7 separate regions of the Homo sapiens genome follow, and all the other regions are linked to region 6. The links are contacts of gene promoters, found by promoter capture Hi-C in blood cells and fetal thymus (Javierre and others, 2016). All regions are on one chromosome and are shown on one strand. Each heading gives the region's core, a stretch centred on a gene start or on the middle of the fragment in contact. The rest is flanking DNA. Distances are from core to core; before and after follow the strand shown. Region 1 overlaps LOC124901750 (a long non-coding RNA gene). Region 2 holds the start of AKR1B15 (aldo-keto reductase family 1 member B15). Region 3 overlaps LOC124901750 (a long non-coding RNA gene). Region 4 has its middle 42 kb from the start of BPGM. Region 5 overlaps LOC124901750 (a long non-coding RNA gene). Region 6 holds the start of AGBL3 (AGBL carboxypeptidase 3). Region 7 overlaps BPGM (bisphosphoglycerate mutase).

Region 1 (2,729 bases), core at 118-2,617, 280 kb before region 6:
TCTTGTGAGTTAGGAGAAGGGAGTGAGAGAGGCCAGAATCCGACCATGTGAGCTTTAATCCCCTTTGTGATATAGTCTGTGCTTACAAATGGTTAAGACAGTGTGTGGCTTTGCCTCTTTTTCTGCCCACATGCTGACAATTTTGTTGAACAAAATTACAAGAATAGCACAAGGATAACCTTTCCCCTGCCCTCTGCATGGGTCTTCCCGACATTGTTATGCTCGCCTGTCTTGTGCTATTAGATCAGCTTTCTTATTGCATCTATGCATTGTGGAACATTCTGGCTACAAGCCTGCGTGCTGGAGCCAGACTGCCTGGGTTCAAATCCCACCACTACCTCTGCTGGCTGTGACGTTTGGCAAGTTCCTTAACCTCTGTCTTCAGTTTTCTTGCCTGAACAGTAAGGAAGGGGATCAGATCCTCTCAAAGGTGCTGCTCAGCCCTGACATGATTGTGCTTTTATTTATTTAAAAAACATAAAAATGATGACTGTGCCTATTACAGGAAGGAATGGAACAGAAGGAGCAGGCAGTGGTGAGAGAAAGATGGATCAAAGAGCCTTTCCCTTCAGCTATAAACCAGCTTCTCTTGTTTCTCTTTGCCTTGCTTTTAAGGTATCTCTGACTACAGAGGAAGAAGAACACGGGAACTTTGAGTTGTTATTATTGAGGAAGACAGGATGATCAGGAATTTGACCAGGAAGCCCAGGTCACATCTAACATCAGTGAGGCAGTGACTGGTTAAAGGCTTGATGAGAACTGGCTGTCTGGCCCCAGGCTGCCAGGAATAGCGGGGGTCAATGACCTATAAAACCTTAGGCTGTATCAGCTTGGGTGGACTAAGTGATTACCATGTCTCCCTAGAAGCTAGTCTGGAAGCCATCCGCAGGGGAATTTGAACTAATGAACCAGGGCCACTGGGGATGGGACCCAGGAATCTGGATTTTAACCAGCATCTCAGCTGACTCTTAGGCTTCAGGTTTAGAACCACTGATGTGGTCCATTCTTCTCACCGACAAAACAAGGACCAGCTCTTTCTTTTTTCTCTGCTTCTTTTCAGACAGAAGGTGTTCGGGGTAGAGAAGCAGAGTTTGATCTCAGTGCTGCTTCTTCTTCTAAGCCACCGTGTTCAGAGAGCTAAGCATAAGGCAGAATGGAGGTGAGAAATCGCTCAGAAATTCTCAAAGCCCAGGCAAAGGGAGATTTGATTTCCTTTTGCATGCTTCCCCGAAGTATGTTAATTCTGGCGTAAACATGGTCTGAGGCATTACTAGGGTGAGGAGAAAGGCGTGCTGAGAAAGGAGGCCCTTACTCTCATAGGCCTTTCGTTGCAGGTCACAGGATGTCACTGATGGGTTGTTCTGAAAGCATTTGCCCCCTGCCACCCCCACCAAGCAGAGTCCTACCCGCTTACGAAAGCAGTTTCTTTGAGGTCAAAGGCTGAGAACAAACTGCAAATAAAAGCATCAGTCTCCTTTGCAGCTGACTCACTTAGGTCACCCCAGGGAGCAGCCAAACCACTGTATAAGGGAGGGACAGCTCAATTTGAGGCATGTATAAATTAGGAAATGTGTAGTACTAATGGATAATTAATAGGTTGTTTTATTTGCAGAGCCGATAGACAAATTTGGCATTCCGTGTGTTCAGACCTTTAAATATTTATAACCAAGAGCCTACAGGAGTACTGTTTCTGTAGAGACTTTTCTGATAGAGTATTGTGAATTTCAAAGTGCCCTTGGCTAAGCCTTTCTGCGATTTCATTCCACTTTTTTTTTTTTCTGCATATAATGGCTAAAGAAATTTTCCTGGGTCACCTTAGTAAACACTGTGTGGTAGTACTTTGAATGTTGTAGGGACCTGGGATACACCCACTACGCAGGGCTAACTACCAAGCAAAGAAGTCCCTTTGCTCATTAGAACAGATGGAAGGGCCAAACCTATCACAATTTAACTTTGAGAAACCACAGGACCTCATTGCCAATAGACTTTTTCTGAGGTGGGCCCTGGAGACCCCTCTGAAAAGTATTTCAGGAAATGTGAGAAGTTCGTGTCCTCTTAGAAAAACTTCAGCTACTCCTAGGGAGTCATAAGCAAACCCCAAATTCCAGAAAGGGGCTTCTTGGGGATTTTGAGACTTTGGGGAGTTTGAGAACTTGACCTTCCCAGAGTACCCTAGAGAGGGGTGAACTGATCAAGAACCATACACTCCATGGTACCACCTGCAAACCCTCTTCCTCACACCCAAAGGGAGTTCTTGGCCCTCACTGGGACTCCTTGCACCCCGGGGAAATGGGTCCAGGAGAGTTGAGCAACTCATCCAAAGTCCCACTACAGTGAGTGTCAGGGCTAGGGTTCAAGCTCACATCTGCCAAACCTCAAAGCCACACTGCAATATAATTATGAAAATAATACGATACTTTTGGTTACTGAGGCATGCTTCGCTGAACCTCAGATTCCTTACCTATCAAGCAGGGCTAATAACACCCACACGCAGAGTTAAGGTCAGTGTCAAATGAGATGATATGCTTATGTCGAGCACCCAACATTGTTTCTGGAACATAGAAGATGCATAACATAGGATTGCTATAATTTTTACTGTTGTTGGAGAGTGGAAACAAATCAGTGGGTTAAGGGAAGAGTGCACATTATTGTCTATAACCCAATAAAGAGAAAAATCAGTGATCTTTGGGAATTGAAAAGAAGTGTTACAAATTGTCACCCTATCCCAC
Region 2 (2,984 bases), core at 428-2,927, 440 kb before region 6:
TAATGAAGAGCGAATTTGTCAGCTGTTAATCAAATATGTTAACAGTAAGAGCCCTGTGTCCCAGGAAAAATCGATTACGCCCTCTGCTGGCGGCAGGGACCAGTTCTCCTTTACCCTTTAGACTCTGGAGGGAGAAAATCAGAAACCAACCTTTCTAAAAAGGAAAGAGTTCCCATGCCTAGACAACCCATACCTACCAAGACATGGGATCCTCTAAATCACCTTCCTTCCTTCAGCGCCCCCAATCCTGCCCCTTTGGTTCCCCTCTCAGGTCCCTCCGGCTGTGGTTTCAGGTTACTCCCCAGCTGTTTCAGGCCACGCCCCAGCCTGTGCTGTCCCTTCAGCTGAGGTTTCAAGTTACTCCCCAGCCGCTTCAGGCCACAACCCACCAAGTTAAAACTATATTAAATCAAAACGCAAGGAGGGAGATTACCAACTCAAAAATTTTAAAATATGAGGCTATCTTTCTGGGAAAAAGGTGATTTAATATTAAGTACTAATAATTCACTTTATTCAGCAGGCTCTTTAACGGGGGATCCAAACGTAAAACGAGAGAGCACGCGTGTTTAAATCGAATTAATTACCATACGAAAGTTCAACCAGACTTAGGAAAAACTCCCTTCAAGACAGGGTGGCACTTATTCATAGATGGAACCTCCCAGGTGATTAAAAGAAAGAGACATAATAGGTATTCAGTGATTAATGGAAAGACTGTTAAAAAAGTAAAATCAGGAAGGGGGTCTAATAATTGGTCTGTCCAAGGGTGTGAACTGTTTGCACTCAGCCAAGCTTTAGGACATTTACAAAACCAAGAAAATCTATCTATACTGACTCTAAGTATCCCTCTGGGGAGGCACACACATTTGGGAAAATTTGGATGGAGAGGGCTCTTATCAATAGTAGAGGCCAAGATTTAGTTCATAGAGAACTGATGCTCGTGTCCTCAACAATCTCCAATTGCCAGAAGAGATAGCTATTGTACATGTCCCAGGGCACCAAAACGACTCGCCTTTCACAAGTCCAGGAAATAATCTTGCAGATCAAATTGTGATACCCTATCTTGTTTTATCCTGATTGACTCTTTCTTAGCTGAGAGAGTCAATAGCTTGGGAGACTCAATTGAGAGTCAATATCGAGAGAGTCAATAGCTGAGAGAGTCTTAGCTTGGTTTCTTCGCTTGCAGCCCCTTGTCCCCCTCCTTAAGGACATAACTGGTGCAAGCTGACTCCAAGCACATCCAAGAATGCGCTTATTGATAAGATACTGAGGCAAGCTGTACCAGCAGCTCCTGGGAGCACACTTGGTTGGTGGTATCCAAAGCCCCTGCTTTTATCACTTTGGGATACTTTAAGCCCCTGCACCTGGAACTGTTTATTTTCCTGTAACTGTTTCTGTAACCATTTATCTTTTAATTTTTTCCTGTTCTGCTTCTGTAAAAAATTGCTTCAGCTAGACTCCCCCTCCCCTCTTTAGGCCAAGGTATAAAAAGAACTCTAGCCTCTTCTTCCGGACCGAGAGAATTTCAAGCTCTAGCTCTTTCTCAGTCGCCAGCAATAAAGGACTCCTGAATTAGTCTCAGAGTGTGGCATTCTCTCTATGACTTGCTCGGTTACGACATTTGGAAGCCCCAGAGAGATTCGCCACCGGGTGAAGACCTGACTCATTCCGGGCTTCCCCAGACAGACAGCTGGCTTACAGGGCCACCTGAAGACGTTCCAGGGCTCCACAGGCCACTGTCTTCTGGAGGGGAACGGATCGACTGCCGGTGCGCCCAGCCAAATTCAACTCCTGAGTCCTCAGTCTCTAGTCCCGGGAAGGTAAGTCAGATCTGACTCTGTCTCTCTGGGAGGGAAACGGCCCTGACGAAGGTCCTCCCTCAGACTCTGTCCATGCTCCAGGACACTGGAGGACAGAGTCCTGGTTTCTGTCAGGATTCTCTGTTAAGTCTAGTCTCTCTCTCTCTCTATCTCTTCTCCCTCTCTCATTCAGGTCTCCGGGAGATCTCTGTTTTAGAATGGGTATAAAAATTGTAATAAACTCTGAGTGAGTGAGTGAGTGAGTGAATGTGGAGTTCAAGGGCTTGCGCTTGAATTTCCAGTTTGTAGCTCCAGGGTGAAAGCTAGGGAATTCGAGAAGGCCCTCACCTGTGGTTCCGTGGTGACCTCATAAGGCTTAGGGCGGCATCAGGCATAGCTCGATCCAAGCCAGGGGTTTATACCAGCCTGCCAATGCCAAGAGGAGCCTAAGTCCCCGAAAGGGGAGCAGCCAGGAGGGCATCTGACTGATCCCATCACGGGACCCCCTCCCCTTGTCTGTCTATAAAAATTGCCATGCTTGTTTATATACCCCAGTGCCTATTGTCCTGTTTAGTGTCTGTCTAAATTTCATATGTCGGATCGTCGATACTGCCCAAAATGACTGGGCAAGGACTTCTTCAAGGTCCTTAGTACAGATTTTCTATCCCAGGAGGTCAAATTCCTCATTAGTCGGTTGGGCTGGCCATCCCAGTCCTGCCTTTCCTGTCAGAAACAAATTAGGTGTTGTTATGGGGAAGGGTGTGGAAGACATTCACCCGTTTAGGATTTCTGGCACCATAAAGATTGCTGGCGTTTGGATTGCCATACCCCACGCCCCAACGACTGGTCCACCTTCTCCTTAGACCAGTGGTGGATCCAAAATAGCCACCCTGCTGACCTCCTTACTCACCTTTTCTGTCATCCCATAACTTTTCCCATGCCCTTAAATAAGGCACTGTGCAGAGAAACCTACACCCATACTGCTCTACTCTGTCTGGACTCTTATTTTACCTCTTTTGGCTACTCTCCAACCTTTAGGGAAATCCAAGTGGCCCCTTTCCTCCTCATCCCCATCCCTTACCCTGCACATCTCATTTTCCTGTGTTGCAGCAAGTCCAGCGTCTCTAAGACTTGGCTGTGTTCTCCCTCCTTAAACCCGTGAAGGAAAGGACCGAGTTTGAACATTTT
Region 3 (2,869 bases), core at 148-2,647, 350 kb before region 6:
AGAAGAGAATATGCTATAGTTACCTTTTTTCAGAAGAAAAGAAATGAAAGCATTTTCCATAATATTTTGTTAGAGGTTGGTCTATTCTTGTTTTACTGAATATAGCTGGGTTTGGAGCTGAGAACACAGGTCCTTTCCTGCTGTGCATAAAAACAATTATCTACAGAAGGGAAACTCTAGCAATATATCAATGCCAGGCCTTTATACACTTGTTGGTATTCTGATGGTGAAGACATGTATGTCATTTGGCACTGCAGTTCCTTCTTTGTTTCGGCTGTGATAGTGATCCAGGATCCTAGCAATCTAAACATCATCTTACTTCGAATTACCAAGCTTTGAAGCCTTTGCCATTACTCACTTTATAAGTCGTAACTTAGTAAAGAGAACATCATATGAGAGTGATTTTTCTTCCCTATCTGATTTTTACATCTTCTGGTTGCAAACAGCAATTTACCTATTCCTCTTATCTGATACCTCACAGAGTGACAACATCAGAAACTAGTTAGGACACTCACCTGGCAGAGACTGGAATTTAGTGGTTGGTACTGACTGATGATATAAACAATTAATTATTTACTCTCTTCATTCCTTATTTCAAAAGTTACTAATAAATGAAGCCAGTCAAGCTATTTCTTACATTTTATTATTTTTAAATTTTATATTTTTATTTTAATTTTATATTTTTAAATTTTATTATAAAAATAAATTTTATTAAATTTATTTTATAAGGATTTTATTTTATAAGGATTCTGTGAGTACTTAAATGAGAAACATAAAGAACTTTGTCTCACTCATGTTGGAATCATAGCTCTTTAGGAAAAAAGTAGCATCTCTCTAGACATAAAATAACAACTATAAGTTGCTATAGAAACAACAGCTCTCAAAGCCAGTAGAGAACATTTTTAAAAAGGGTGCCCCTTAGAATCTCAGGTAGCCTCCAAAATGCTTACACCCAAAGAAAAAGTATTTTACATAGACGGGCTTAGTTTAGAGGTTTAAGATGATTTCATCTTTAAATAGATAGCCTTTACTCTCCGTTGTGATTTTTATACTGTTTTAGATTTCTTAAAAAGTTTTCCCCTCTCTATTTTTCAGACCCATTAGGCTTCATGTCATCTCAGCTGACTAGCATCTGTGGCCTGGCACTTGTTTTGACTAAGTAATCATATGCCTTTCTCTACCTAGTGCAGCCCCTGGAACCTTATCTGCTAGGACCAGCCTTTCACTGCCCTAGGAAGGCCTCCCAGTTGCGTGTTACATCTGTTTTTCTCTGGAAGAAAACAAGAGAAAACAATTAAGAAGGTTGATTTTACCCTATACATAAGAAACTTCAATTCTCATTCTGTGCTTTAACTGCTTTTGTATTTAAGCAATTCTTTCGTCTACTTTGAGCCTCTATTTTCTCAACTATAAAATAAGGGAGTTGAGCTACATGATTTCTGTTTCTTTCAGAGCTAACATTTTCAGTCCACACATAAAATTTAACATTATTCTTATAAGTTTATATATATCACATTTTATTGTAAACTCCTAGGGTCTAAAGGCATAAATGTTTTTAAAAAGACATGTACTTATTTATTTGTGTGAATCTATACACAAAAAGTACTATTTAGCAAAAAAAAAAAAGACAGGAAATTTAATCTATTTCTTTTTTGATGCATTCATTTATTAACATATATTAATTGAGCACCTAATGCCAGACATTGTGGACAAGTGGTAAACCAAAGCAACAGGGCCCATATGTTTAGGGAGCTTGAAGACCAATGGAGAAACAGATCATATACAGTGTAAGTAGATTTGTGTAAAGTTCTATAAAGAAGAAGTGCACGGTGCCTAGGAGATATAAGCCAGGTAGGATCAAGTTTTTCCAGGAGGATGACCACTCAATAAATATCAAAGTTGAATAGGAATCATTAGACTAAGGGGCAGGGAGTGGGGAAGGGAGGAAGAAGAGAAGGAGGGGAAGGATGTAGCATTCTAGGTAGGGAATACACATGTGTGAAGGCCAAATGATCATAGGGAGAAGGAAGGGTCACTATAAGGAGCAATGGGAAGCCACTGTTCTAAGCTGGGGAGTGGTAGGGGGTGACTTGTGACACAATCACTAAGGTATTCTACCATATCACCCACCCCTGGCTGCCTAGAAGAGAGTAAAAGTGGATTCAGAAAGACTTGTTAGGAGGCTACTGAGAAAATGCCGGCAAGAGGTGATGGTAGCTTGGGCTAAGGTGTTGGTAGTGTGTTAGGGGTGTGGTGTGTCTGTGAATAGGATGAGGAGGATGGAAAAAAATATTTGAAACATAAACCTTGATTGATACTGATTTGGATTAGATTGTGTAAAGAGGCTTTAATGAGACATTCTAGAAATTACACTTCCACGTAAGTGTCACTGCCTTCTAAGTGTTATATTATGAGGTTACACACCCATTTCAAAGATGCTTCATGGGTGTCAACAATTCTGAGAAGCTTCTTTCAGAACTTACGTCAGAACCAGTGTATAAACCATAGCAGAAAAATAGGCTTATTGCTATATAGAAAATATTTCATAAATCCCCAAAGCTAAGGAAACAAATATGTGTGTAATGTTCTTAAGTTGATGCAGGGTTCATAAAGACTTCCTTTTATGAGTTTGACCTTCCAACTTGTAGAGTGAGGTCACTTCTTTAAGAAAATATGCATGTATGTAGGGGAAAAGTTATGTTATCTGAGTCTTCATCAAAGAATGAGGATATGTTCTTTTATCCAAGAGCTAGCTGACTGGGGAAGCCCATAGGCAGAAGAAAATCCTGGTCAGGAGGGGTTTTTTAATTTTATTTTTAGGGAGCAGATAAATACATCTTAGATGACTGACAACAAATTTTCCAAAGAA
Region 4 (2,895 bases), core at 312-2,811, 380 kb before region 6:
GGCTGTCTTGGGTCCCAGGCCACCTGGATCTCAGGCTGGCATCATCTTAACAATGGCTGGGTTGTTGACTAGTCACCTTGAAGTCATCTCTGGAATTCTGTAGCGGGGTCTCCAGACTTGGTCTGCCTAAAAATTAGCCCCATAATAATTATGTGCCTTTAGACACTAGCATGCAGTTAGATAAATGTGAAGGGACTATATTCGGTGAGAAAGAGGGACGTGGAGTCCATTTTAAGGCTAAGGAAAAAGGCTTCTGCAGTTTGCTTCAAGGTTATATGTTGAAATCCAAGAGAAAGGAAAAAAAACGTTTAAAATGCATTTTGAAGTTAAGTTGCCTAGTTACAGAATCATAGACTCGAGGCTGGTGGGGCCCAGAGGCACTGGAGGTCTTCTAGATCTTCAATATTACACACAGTCTGGCTAATGTTTAAACACCTCTAGGGATCAGGAATTCACTTCCCAACGAATATTTAGGAGAAAATCTTGTGTTTAGCAAGTCTTTCTTAACGTGCAGCTAAAATGCCATCTTCCTTTATCCTCCATTTGTAGATCTCAATTCTGCATGCAGTGACGGCACGGAACGGGTCTTTTCCTATTCCTAATGAAAGCCCTCCAAATATTTGATATAGGTCTTATATTCCTATGTTACACCCAATTGTTTTTGATGAATACCCCCAATTAATGGATACAGTTCAAATTCCACAAATTAAATTCATTTTTAAATTCAATTTATTAAAAATTGATTTATTAGTTTACTAATATTGATACATCAATTAAATTACATAACCTCAATTAATACAGTTCCAAATGGATGTGTGTTTAATACCCTTGGCTTTAAGAGAGAGAGAGAAGGCCGGGCACGGTGGCTCACGCCTGTAATCCAAGCACTTTGGGTGGCTGGGGCGGGTGGATCACGAGGTCAGGAGTTCAAGACCAGCCTCGCCAAGATGGTGAAACTCCGTGTCTACTAAAAATACAAAAATTAGCTGGGCGCAGTGGCAGGCACCTGTAATCCCAGCTACTCAGGAGGCTGAGGCAGGAGAATTGCTTGAACCAGGCGGCAGAGGTTGCAGTGAGCTGAGATCGCACCACTGCACTCCAGCCTGGGCGACAGAGCTAGACTCCGTCTTAAAAAAAAAAAATAACAAGAGAAAGACAGGAGGCTCCAGCTGAATCTTTTAGGCTGTCAGTACCTTAGTAGGGTCATTTTGAGACCAAGGTCCAGTCTACAGTTTTTGACATTTAAAAAATTATTTCTAAAAATGTATTTTTGTTAGTCCACTCAGGAATAATATCGGGGATGATCCATAATAATCTAGTCATTAAAAAACTGATAAATATAGTAGAATCTTACATAACTATTCAGAGAGATATATCCATCAAGCCGACTGAAACATATGTGCACCTGCCTGCTGGTCATATATGATCTTTTCAGTAGCCAGAAAACCTTTGAAAATGATTTGCATATCAGAAGAGTGATTATAATAAATAACTTAAGCCTGAGGCACTTACCATCTTGATTGATCCTAAGGACAGAGCACACTGCCATATGCCTGCAGCCCAGTGGGTAGATCCTCTTTTGATAGTTGTGGAGGGAGATTCTCATAAATTCTGGATGAATGATTCTTCCCTTTCAATATTCATTATCAGACATACAAGTCTTCCATCATCTCTGTATTTGGCAGTATGTGTAGTGGCTATGAGGCTTGTCTCTAGAGTAAGTATTTATCAAATGAAGGACTGAATACACAAACCACATGCCACCGGGATAGGATAAAGTCAGTTGAAGTTTAATGATGGGAGCATATTTTGCTGGAGTATAGTTTGAAAGCATTGCCTTTCCAGATAAAATTTGTAAAAGACGTCACCTCAGGCTCCTTCCTATGGTTTAGAAAACACTCCAGTTAGTAATGTTTGTAACATCTTTTGGGGGAGTAAGTTGATTCAGAGATGAGATACAGGATATCCATTTTTATTACTTTCTATTGAAGAGGGTGGAATTTCTATCTTCTCCATCCGACTGGGTACACCTACCCGGAAAGACTCTGTAGCTCCTATGCTCTTTCTACAGTAGAGAAGGGCTTCAGAGAGGACAGGATGGATGACCTCAGCCCCCCAGATAAAGGAGGATGTGAGCTCAACTGCTGCAGTTGGGGAAGCTGAAATGTGGTAAGGGATTTCAGGGAGTGGGGAAGGCTTAGAATACTTCCATGAGGAATCCCCTAAGAAGTTCATGAAGAATGAAAGTTGAACATTGAAGTCACCACTGAGGTTACATATCACATATTTAGAATTAAGTCACTGTGCAGACTTTTGTAATTTTCTGCCAAGCACCTGGCTGCCCAGAGAAAGAGAGATAAGAAGGTTGATTTTTTTTTTGTCTTTTTTCTTGTTTCCTTTTTGTGGAGAACAGGGTCTCGCTATATTGCCCAGGCAGGTCTCGAACTCCTGGGCTTAAGCTATCCTCCCGCCTCTTGTCTCCCTGAGAGCTGGGATTACAGGCGTGAGCCACCATGCCTGGCCAAGAAGTTTGATTTTATCTAGTGCTGGGAATTGCCTAAGTACAAAGGATTCCAGGAGGCCTAGTGACATTAACTGATCTTTAAATAGAAAATCGTTAAGGGTTGTTTAGCAGGAAATGTTTCAAAGCAGGGGAAAGGCTACCCATGTAGACAGATAGGAGATGATTATAGACAATTAACCTGAGAGTAACCTGTCATCTCCCCAATGGCTGAGGTCTCACCATTTCTCTGGTTTACACTTGCATGGGGCTTAAGATCTTCTTGGCCCCAGCTGACTGACCTCCCTGTATTATTTGCTATTGTTTGTTTAATTCCACTATTGTCTTACCCCTTCAAACTTCAGGCTTTCATTATAAATATTAATAATCTGACT
Region 5 (2,917 bases), core at 16-2,515, 360 kb before region 6:
ATTCCTGACATCATGCTTCCCTCTAAGTACTGTGAGTGCACAGAGGGAAATGTGAGTCTGTGTGCTCAGGTACTTTTTAAATTTCAGGCTTAGGGGAGTCTATGATCCCTAAGTCTGACACTGTCTCATGAACTGTGAAGAACTTGAAGACAGGAGGCTCTATCAGCCTCTCAGCAAGAGAGACAGCACACTCAGCTTTGTTGTGTAGAGGCTTTTTCATAAAGGAAATATTTAGAGGTGTGGTTCGGGTTAGAGGAACTAGCAAGGGATGTTGAGGTGCCCAGACACTAGGAATAGCAGGGAGTTCTGATGATCCCCAGGCCTGAACAGTAGGGGGAGAAAACGCAATTTTTGGAGACTGGCTAAGAGTTAGAGTCAAGATGGGCTGCCCAACGGTAGCTATAGTTTGAGTGATGAGGCCATTGATAGAACCACGGTGAAGCAGATGGTGAGTGGGAATAAATGGTGAGGAGAGATATATTGAAAATAAATATTCCAACATCTTCTCCTCCCACTGACCAGAGGGCAAGGGAACCTCGGTAACACAGTACCTAGAGGTCAGGTTCCCAGGACAAAGAACATAACAGAACACAGAATAAATCTGCAACGAATCAAAGAACAACCACAACAGATGTTTATGAATACTTGCCCCAGTTTTCTCAGGAAAGAAGGCATGGGGAAAGGGAGGGCAAGAAATGAGTTGCGTTTACAAGGAAATTGGTTACAGAGAGTTTACAAAGTCTTCAATTTTGAATTGAGTAGCAAAAAGATGGAAAATTAGATGACCTGTGACTGGGCCAGTAGATGTCTTTGCATTGCATATATCAACCTCAAGCACTTCTCTAAAAGTATCATGAGACAAAACTGTAGCACTAGACGGCATCAGTGAAATTAACCTTAAAGTACCTGGAAGATAAGTATTTTGAGGAGGGCTATCAGATCAAGCTTCTGGTCTTAATCTCTGGGTTTGACATTGGGATTTTAGAAGAAATATTTAAATGGATAGCGAAGTAAAAGGTATATGGATGCCAGGAGATTCCTGAGCTATAGAACTCTGACACTATTTCAATTTTTTGATAATCTTCTGATTCTTCACCTATGAAAATATTATATGAAACTACTTACCAAATTTATCAACCCATGACACATCCACAAACCCAAACTTGCCAGAATACTTTCATTGTCGTGTTAATGTGTTTGAAGGAGAGTGTGGAGGGCGGGGAACACAGGAGACTCCTTGGTCTACATGTCCATACATGCATATCCACATACCAGCATCAGCCATCTCTCTTTCTCCAGCAAAATTACTCTTGCTTTCCATTTCTGTTGTCCAAAATGGGCAAAGGTGAGTGAGTAAAACCAAAACACCAATACACTGAGGATGTCTTTTATTATACACAGAAGTATCCTACTATGCTAGAAAACAATATTATACTAATTTTCTTAGAGAAACAAAGTAGCTGACTATTCATCTGATTCAAATATATGTGAGACACACTTTTTTATCCTTCAGATACAATTTTCACATCGTACTTTCTCTTTAGATTTTATAGTTGGCCCAGTTTCCCCTTGAATGCGAGCCTTATAAGCTTTTTGTACCTCTTAACATCAAACTCAATGAATAACTAAGACTTGGGCTATTTGTATTGCCCAAATGGGAAATGGGGGAGGGTGAAGGAAGAGAATCCTCCCCTCTCCATTCGAAGGTTCCAGGGGGCTACAAAGAGATAATGGTTGATGTTGATTCTAGAAAACTGGTTCTCATGAAGTTTTCAAGCTGATTTCCTTATGTATTAACTTCACTAAAAGAAGGATTCCTTTTGATAAGTGAGGACAAAAAGGCATCATTGAATACCAATTACAAAAAGAAAAAAAATCTACAAGTACAATATTTTGCTTCAAATAAAATATATTTATGTGGTTGCTATGTTTTTGTTGATAGTCAATATATGTAAATATTTAGCTAAATTATGAAAATTCAAGAAAGATCACAGCTATTGGAAGTAGCAGGCTAGCTAAAAGCCTCTGCAGCATTGCTTGAACAGAAACAGACCAAAGGCAGATTATGTCTGAAGATGTGTTGATTATATCTCCTTAAAGAAATAATAAGTTCTTTAAAAGGGCAATATAAGCAACATTCATGTACTTATGAGAAATGTGTAACTAAATACTTCATTGCTTAACTAAACATTTATTGGATGCCTATCGGTGATTAGAATGAATGATTGGGGGTTCCAGTTAATTAACTACCTGAATTTGTCTTCCTATATATAATTTTCCAGGAAGAAAATAATATAACAAAAAGGAAATGGTTACAAAGTAACAAACATTTTATTTCCCAGTCTAATCTTTTTCAACCTATATTTATACCCAGAGGACTGCGTGGTATGTTCAGCATCATGTATCTTGGCTTCTGTCAAGATGAATATTTTGTATTGATCAACGCTTTACACTTTACAAAGCCCTTTCAAATACTTATTTCCTTTGACTTCTAAGTCTTACTGCACCATTGTGTAGATGGAAAAATTGAGTCTGAAGTGGTGATTTCCCCAATGTTATTCTACTTCATGCCCACTAGAATAGCTAAAATCTAAGACTGACAGTATCAAGTATTGGTAAGGATGCAGAACAATTAAAACTCACATATATTGCTGATGGAAGTATAAAATGATATAACCACTTTGACAAAAAGTTTGGCAGTTTCTTATAAAGTTAAACACATCTTCTGATTCAGCAATTGCAGTTGTAGGTAAGTATCCAAGGTAAGTGAAAATACATGTTCACAAAAAGACTTGTAGAAGAATGTTCATAGCAGCTCTATTCACTGTAGTCAAAAATTGAAAACGACCCAAATGTCCATCAACAACAGGATGGGTAAACAAGTTGTAGTATATTAGCACTTAGCATTAAAAAGAAT
Region 6 (2,746 bases), core at 33-2,532:
GTATGTGATAATATAACTATTTGGACTAAAAATCACGAGACTTAAGTCTCTCAGCCCTGCCATTAATTTCTTATATAACCTGGTTAGACCATTTCTCAGTTTTACCTTGTACAGCTGACATCCTATGGCTTGCAGCCATGACTAAAATCCAACAGAAAAACAGATTACATAAATAAAGATTTCTCTGTGCATGTCACCTTTAGTGATTTATGTATGGCATAAAACAAGCTTCAACTATAAGAGCTACTTTTCAAGAGGTTGATCTAAGATATACTCTATTAATATTCTCTGGCCAAGGTCTAATCTGGAAGGTTCATACTTTTAAACTGCTGACCTCAAAAACACCTATTTTCAGATACTTACAAAATACAAAGAGATTATGTTAACCCATTTCCATGCTTAAGCCATAGTGCTTTGCCCTTTATTCTACTTTCAAACTTGCTACCATTTATTATCTCCATTTCTACAATATCACGAATCTCATGACATATAACGCTTTGTGAAAAGTGTTTATTTACATTCTTATATCATCAAAATCTAGACTTTTTTTCAGCTGTACTTGGAAAACTTTTCCAAATAGATTACCTTACCCTGTAGAGCTAAAGATGAGGGAAAAAATCAATATGGGATGTTCATGAATAACGTCTGTTAACTAAATGAGACTACATATAGTGATTTGCAGTCATCAGGAAAACAGTGTTAAATATGCTAGCTGACGATTGCTATAAAGAATCTCTGAGCTGATAATTTTGAGAATTCACCCTAGTTCATCTATGACTCTCCATTTAGTATTTAAGGAGAAAAGCCTCATTTTCCAGAATCGAATAAGCGAATTAATCGCACAATTGTGTAGAATGGAACTCAGTCTGTAAAAAATCAAGACCAACGTACTTTTTAATATTCTAACATCTCCAAGTAGTAGTTACAAGTATTGTACCCATGAAGTCCAGGTAATTAATTTGTTCAATGTCACACTGTTAAAAGTCAGGTGGGCTCCAAAGCACAGTCCTAACCAGCATGCTCTACTGCCTCCTCTGAGGCAACAGCCGAAGTGCAGACCACTGGGAATAAATAGCTGCCCGGTCTTCCCCACTCCTAAATTCTCCCGACAGACCCCAAAGCCTCTCTGAGAGCCTCTCTGACCGCCCTGCGGCCCACCCCGAGTTCCCGGCATCCTCTGGGATCCCTCTTCCTGGAGCCAAAACCTACGCAGGCTCCTTTCCTCCGAGCTGGTTGCTAGGTGATCTCCGAAGGCTGTCCGAAGTCTCGCGAGGGCGGACCCGTTGCCTGATGACGAGAGTTGGGAGTGTGGCTGGGGCTGCGGATCTCCAGCAGTGGCGTTACTTCTAGCGGCTGGATACCGGGTTCTCCGCGAGATCGCGAGATCCCGAGATATTCTCCCCGCACGGAAGCGACGACTGGCCTGGCCAGAGGACTCGCGTGGGAGCGAGGTGCCGGCCCCGACAGGACGGTGAGGTATGCAGAAGTAAGGCGGGGCGCCCCCTGCGGGAAGCGAGCGCGCCCCGGAAAATGAGCGCCTCCCCACACCAAGGTGTCCAGGAGTGAGTGCGGGAAGGAACTCGGCCGCCCGGAGTTGTGGCCTCATCGTGCTTCCCGCCAAAAACGCCTTGGTACTGTCGGGACGCGGCTAAGCGTGGACGCGCCCGCATCTGCCCCTCCTCCGCAGTGGTGGAAGACACCCGCGGAGCGCCGGTGGATAAGGGCCGTTTCCTGAGACCAGAGCTGTATCCGCAGCAGGTCAGCACTTCGTGCGCCCTGTGTGCACCTGTAAGGAATGGAATTTAGGCCAGTCGGATTTTCCAAATGTGGAGTTGTGATGCCCAGGCAGAAACTTCAGTTTCTTAGGACTGAAGGTGTCATCTATGAGACAGTCGGTTCCGTGGCATTGGCAGTGATTTGCCATAGAGCTTGGACTTAACTTATATGTAGTCCACGCTCCAAAACACGCTTCCTGTAGAGAGGGGCGTAAACTAATAGATTTGAAATTGTCGAGTCCTTTGGTCTCTCAAGAACGATGGGAACTTGACAAGAAATTTCGATTATTCCCTGGTCTTGATATTACCCACATGGGAAGATACTTGCATAGAATGGTAATGGTCATTACCAATACAACCTTCTGGTAGCTATTTAGATTTCTAAGAATAAGAATAATATAAATGAATATTAGAACAGACAGTATCTACAGAATAATAATCAAAATGTAAAGTCTTGTCACTTGAACTTTTGGTCAAGTGAAAATCAAGGAGAAAACTTAAAATTATATTGCTACATTTCAGTAAGTGACTATAATTTTTAAATTCATTATCTTTTAATGCCTCAGGATCATTCTGAACTTGCTGTGTAGTATTTAATTGTAAATATAAAATGTGAATGATTTGGCTGTATACTCTGGAAATTCCTTTTAATTAAATGATTTGCTTGATTTGTCTTATTGTGGTTGTTGTCTCGTATAGTCATGGAAAATTCCTTTAACTCTTTGAAATTGAAGGTTTTATTAGTTGTATTCTAATTAGTTTTTAGAGAAGACTGTTGTGACTGTTAAATACAATTGAATATATTTTTGAGTACTCATTTAATGTAGTAAACACCTACAGCTTGAAAAGAAAAGCTGTCATATAATTTCCTTAGAAATTGTTTTACAGCCTACCCGTATATTACAAGAAATCTCAAGTCAAACACTGGAAAAGATGTCAGAAGATTCAGAAAAGGAAGACTATTCAGACAG
Region 7 (2,719 bases), core at 220-2,719, 330 kb before region 6:
TGGTTACAAAGGGTAGATACAGTTTTTGATGGAGCTGAGGCTTCTACTACTTGGTGGATTGGGGCTTTGTAAAGAAACACTGCAAAAATATCTTCCATTTGCAAATTAACACACTTACACACACCCCTCCGTGTGTGTGTGTGTGTGTGTGTGTGTGTGTGTGTGTGTGTTCATCACCTGGTTTCTCACAGGTGAGGGGCTCTGAAGCTTGAACTTTGTTAGATTCATGACTATTCTGCCCCTGGGCACAGGCAGTCATCTGGCAAAACACTGCCTAGATACCTTTTGTTCCCTTCTCTGTTCTGCCACCCTGATGCCTCTTCTAGGCTAAGGACAGAGACATTGGGCTTCCTCCTTGGGAATTCTCAGCTCTGTGGGATGCTTTAATCTGGGTCCTGAGCCCAGGCTCTTCTGGTTCCCTGGCACTTCCCTGCTGCACATGCACAGCAACCTGGTACTTAACAAGAAAGGAAAATCATCATCCTAACTGCTGTAGCCTTTCAACTTCAGTCATGCACCACCTAATGATGTTTCAGTCAAGCATGGATCGTGTAAATGATGGTGGCCCTGTAAGATGGTAATGGAGCATATATAGACATCTGATATGTGGCACTTGACATTGGCATTGCAGATCGAGTAGGGGAAATGACTGATATTCAGTAATTGTGCTGGGATACTTGGCTTTCCATATGAAAAAACATAAGTAACAATATGTATACCATCTAGGTTTGTGTAAGTACATTCTATGTTGTTTGCACGACAAAATCACCTAATGATGCATTTGCCAGGACATATTCCCTTCATTAAGCAACACATGACGATACTTGCAAATCACCTCAATTTGATTTCTTTCCTTAAGTCCTCTGTTTGCCTTCCATTGAAATATAAAGCCTTATTTTAAAGACTGTTTTCCCTTCAGAATCTCTAGGAATTACTAAAGAAAGGTAGAAACTAGATCTAGATTCCAATCAATTTTGCCATTGATTGTTATTTTACTGTGGGTGACTCACAGTTTAAGTGGGAGAGAAAATCTCCAGTTAATGGAAGTTGCCAAGAGTGGCAGAAGACCAGGCTGTAGTGCTCGTATAATCTTTACAACCCAGTGTGCAAAACACTGGAGGAGAGATGGAGAGGCCGGGCGTGTAAACCAAGCATGTGTCAGTGCAGATGTGTCCACCACAAGGAGAGAGAGAGGCGGGCTGAGCAGCCATGTCAGCAGATTCTCCGAGGATGGAGTGGGCCCAGCAGATCTTCAGGCCAGCAGCTTAAATGTAAGGAGTTCAGCATAGCTTGAGAGTTGCTGGTCTCCCTTTACTAGATTCTCCCCCTGCTAAGACGTAGCTGGTGTGTGTAGGATATCTGGAGGGCTGGGGAGGAGGAGGTGGGGCCTCTTTATCAGTGTGGTTCCTCTCACTCCTGCCTACCAGATCTGTTTGTACAGGCAGCATCCCTCAGCTGCTTGCATTTGATAGCTTATTTTGCATCTGGATTTATTCCTGCTGAAAACTCTATCTTGAGGTAGGTGCAAGATTATTTAGGTACGTACCATATTTGGTGTTAATGTCTCTTTAAAGCACTTTTAATTTGTCTGAATGTTGAACTGATGTGTTTTGCATACCTTAGATTTTCTTGTGTGTTGTAGCCTGTGGCATTGAAGAGCTAGTTGCCACCAGCCAGTGATACATATCAGATATATGCAGTGGTGCATTGAAATAACATGTTTAATAACTTCTATAATAAGAATGTGAGACTGGTAAATACTTCTTTTTCCACCACAGGAAAACAAAGTGAAAAGGATGCCTTCAGTGTAGAGTCAGCTGCTGGGAGCTGGGAGTTCCCAGCCACTAGTCATTCTTTCAGACGTCTGTAACTCATTCTATTAAATCCTTTCTACTGTAAGCATAAATTGCCTTTGTATCTGGCAGAAACACAGCATGCCATTAGAATGAAGTGTTTTGTTATTTTATGTCATGCAATTAACATGCTATCCAAACATCAGAAAATTTAAGTCAACTAGATTCCCTGTAATGAATTATTAATATCTATAGAATATGCCTGTATGTGTCACAGTGTATGAGTTATCACATTTCTGACTGTTCAAAGGGATTTCAGTTTCTTTTAGAAATTGGGTGTTGTAAAGCGATGTTTCTATTCCTAGATTGTCAGTTGAATATAACTTAGACTTGTTGTTCTTGTCTTTCTAGATGTATTGCTGTCCTTGAATATTAGCCCATTTGAAAACGCCTGGGAAGTTCAGCCATCAGTATGTCCAAGTACAAACTTATTATGTTAAGACATGGAGAGGGTGCTTGGAATAAGGAGAACCGTTTTTGTAGCTGGGTGGATCAGAAACTCAACAGCGAAGGAATGGAGGAAGCTCGGAACTGTGGGAAGCAACTCAAAGCGTTAAACTTTGAGTTTGATCTTGTATTCACATCTGTCCTTAATCGGTCCATTCACACAGCCTGGCTGATCCTGGAAGAGCTAGGCCAGGAATGGGTGCCTGTGGAAAGCTCCTGGCGTCTAAATGAGCGTCACTATGGGGCCTTGATCGGTCTCAACAGGGAGCAGATGGCTTTGAATCATGGTGAAGAACAAGTGAGGCTCTGGAGAAGAAGCTACAATGTAACCCCGCCTCCCATTGAGGAGTCTCATCCTTACTACCAAGAAATCTACAACGACCGGAGGTATAAAGTATGCGATGTGCCCTTGGATCAAC

The links. The method cuts DNA at HindIII sites, captures the fragments that hold promoters and counts their contacts. A CHiCAGO score of 5 or more calls a contact.
Region 1: a contact is called between a fragment that was not itself captured here and the fragment with the promoter of AGBL3 in region 6, in 6 of 17 cell types (naive CD8 T cells, non-activated CD4 T cells, naive CD4 T cells and 3 more). The highest score is 9.4, in naive CD8 T cells.
Region 2: the fragment with the promoter of AKR1B15 here is called in contact with the fragment with the promoter of AGBL3 in region 6 in 16 of 17 cell types (total CD4 T cells, M0 macrophages, total CD8 T cells and 13 more); the score reaches 18.2 in total CD4 T cells.
Region 3: a fragment that was not itself captured here is called in contact with the fragment with the promoter of AGBL3 in region 6 in 10 of 17 cell types (naive CD4 T cells, naive CD8 T cells, activated CD4 T cells and 7 more); the score reaches 19.9 in naive CD4 T cells.
Region 4: a fragment that was not itself captured here is called in contact with the fragment with the promoter of AGBL3 in region 6 in 7 of 17 cell types (naive CD4 T cells, naive B cells, non-activated CD4 T cells and 4 more); the score reaches 8.0 in naive CD4 T cells.
Region 5: a contact is called between a fragment that was not itself captured here and the fragment with the promoter of AGBL3 in region 6, in 5 of 17 cell types (naive CD4 T cells, naive CD8 T cells, total CD4 T cells and 2 more). The highest score is 7.7, in naive CD4 T cells.
Region 7: a fragment that was not itself captured here is called in contact with the fragment with the promoter of AGBL3 in region 6 in 7 of 17 cell types (naive CD4 T cells, total CD8 T cells, naive B cells and 4 more); the score reaches 8.9 in naive CD4 T cells.

Annotation. Positions count from the first base shown.
Region 1 is chr7:134,702,593-134,705,321 of GRCh38, forward strand. The region is part of intron 1 of LOC124901750 (a long non-coding RNA gene); the gene reads right to left. Among named protein-coding and RNA genes, the nearest start is that of BPGM, 57 kb to the left of the region's middle. RefSeq lists silencers at 305-599, 1,170-1,380. The HindIII fragment of the contact is 3,656 bases long and covers 1-2,729 here.
Region 2 is chr7:134,547,433-134,550,416 of GRCh38, forward strand. AKR1B15 (aldo-keto reductase family 1 member B15) reads left to right here and starts at 1,678. Exons shown (of 12, transcript NM_001080538.3): 1 at 1,678-1,817. LOC105375520 (a long non-coding RNA gene) reads right to left here. Exons shown (of 3, transcript XR_928005.3): 3 at 1-2,984. RefSeq lists an enhancer at 1,689-1,748. The HindIII fragment of the contact is 2,317 bases long and covers 788-2,984 here.
Region 3 is chr7:134,638,889-134,641,757 of GRCh38, forward strand. The region is part of intron 1 of LOC124901750 (a long non-coding RNA gene); the gene reads right to left. Among named protein-coding and RNA genes, the nearest start is that of BPGM, 6.5 kb to the right of the region's middle. RefSeq lists a cis regulatory region at 978-1,398. The HindIII fragment of the contact is 2,133 bases long and covers 332-2,464 here.
Region 4 is chr7:134,603,571-134,606,465 of GRCh38, forward strand. No RefSeq gene overlaps it. Among named protein-coding and RNA genes, the nearest start is that of BPGM, 42 kb to the right of the region's middle. The HindIII fragment of the contact is 6,093 bases long and covers 1-2,895 here.
Region 5 is chr7:134,622,173-134,625,089 of GRCh38, forward strand. The region is part of intron 1 of LOC124901750 (a long non-coding RNA gene); the gene reads right to left. Among named protein-coding and RNA genes, the nearest start is that of BPGM, 23 kb to the right of the region's middle. The HindIII fragment of the contact is 644 bases long and covers 944-1,587 here.
Region 6 is chr7:134,985,226-134,987,971 of GRCh38, forward strand. It overlaps AGBL3 (AGBL carboxypeptidase 3), which reads left to right and starts at 1,283. Exons shown (of 17, transcript NM_178563.4): 1 at 1,283-1,476; 2 at 2,650-2,746. The coding sequence starts at 2,709. RefSeq lists enhancers at 1,185-1,484, 1,495-1,634, 1,715-1,974. The HindIII fragment of the contact is 3,121 bases long and covers 227-2,746 here.
Region 7 is chr7:134,659,243-134,661,961 of GRCh38, forward strand. BPGM (bisphosphoglycerate mutase) reads left to right here. Exons shown (of 3, transcript NM_001724.5): 2 at 2,205-2,719. The coding sequence starts at 2,266. The region is part of intron 1 of LOC124901750 (a long non-coding RNA gene); the gene reads right to left. Among named protein-coding and RNA genes, the nearest start is that of BPGM, 14 kb to the left of the region's middle. The HindIII fragment of the contact is 2,528 bases long and covers 206-2,719 here.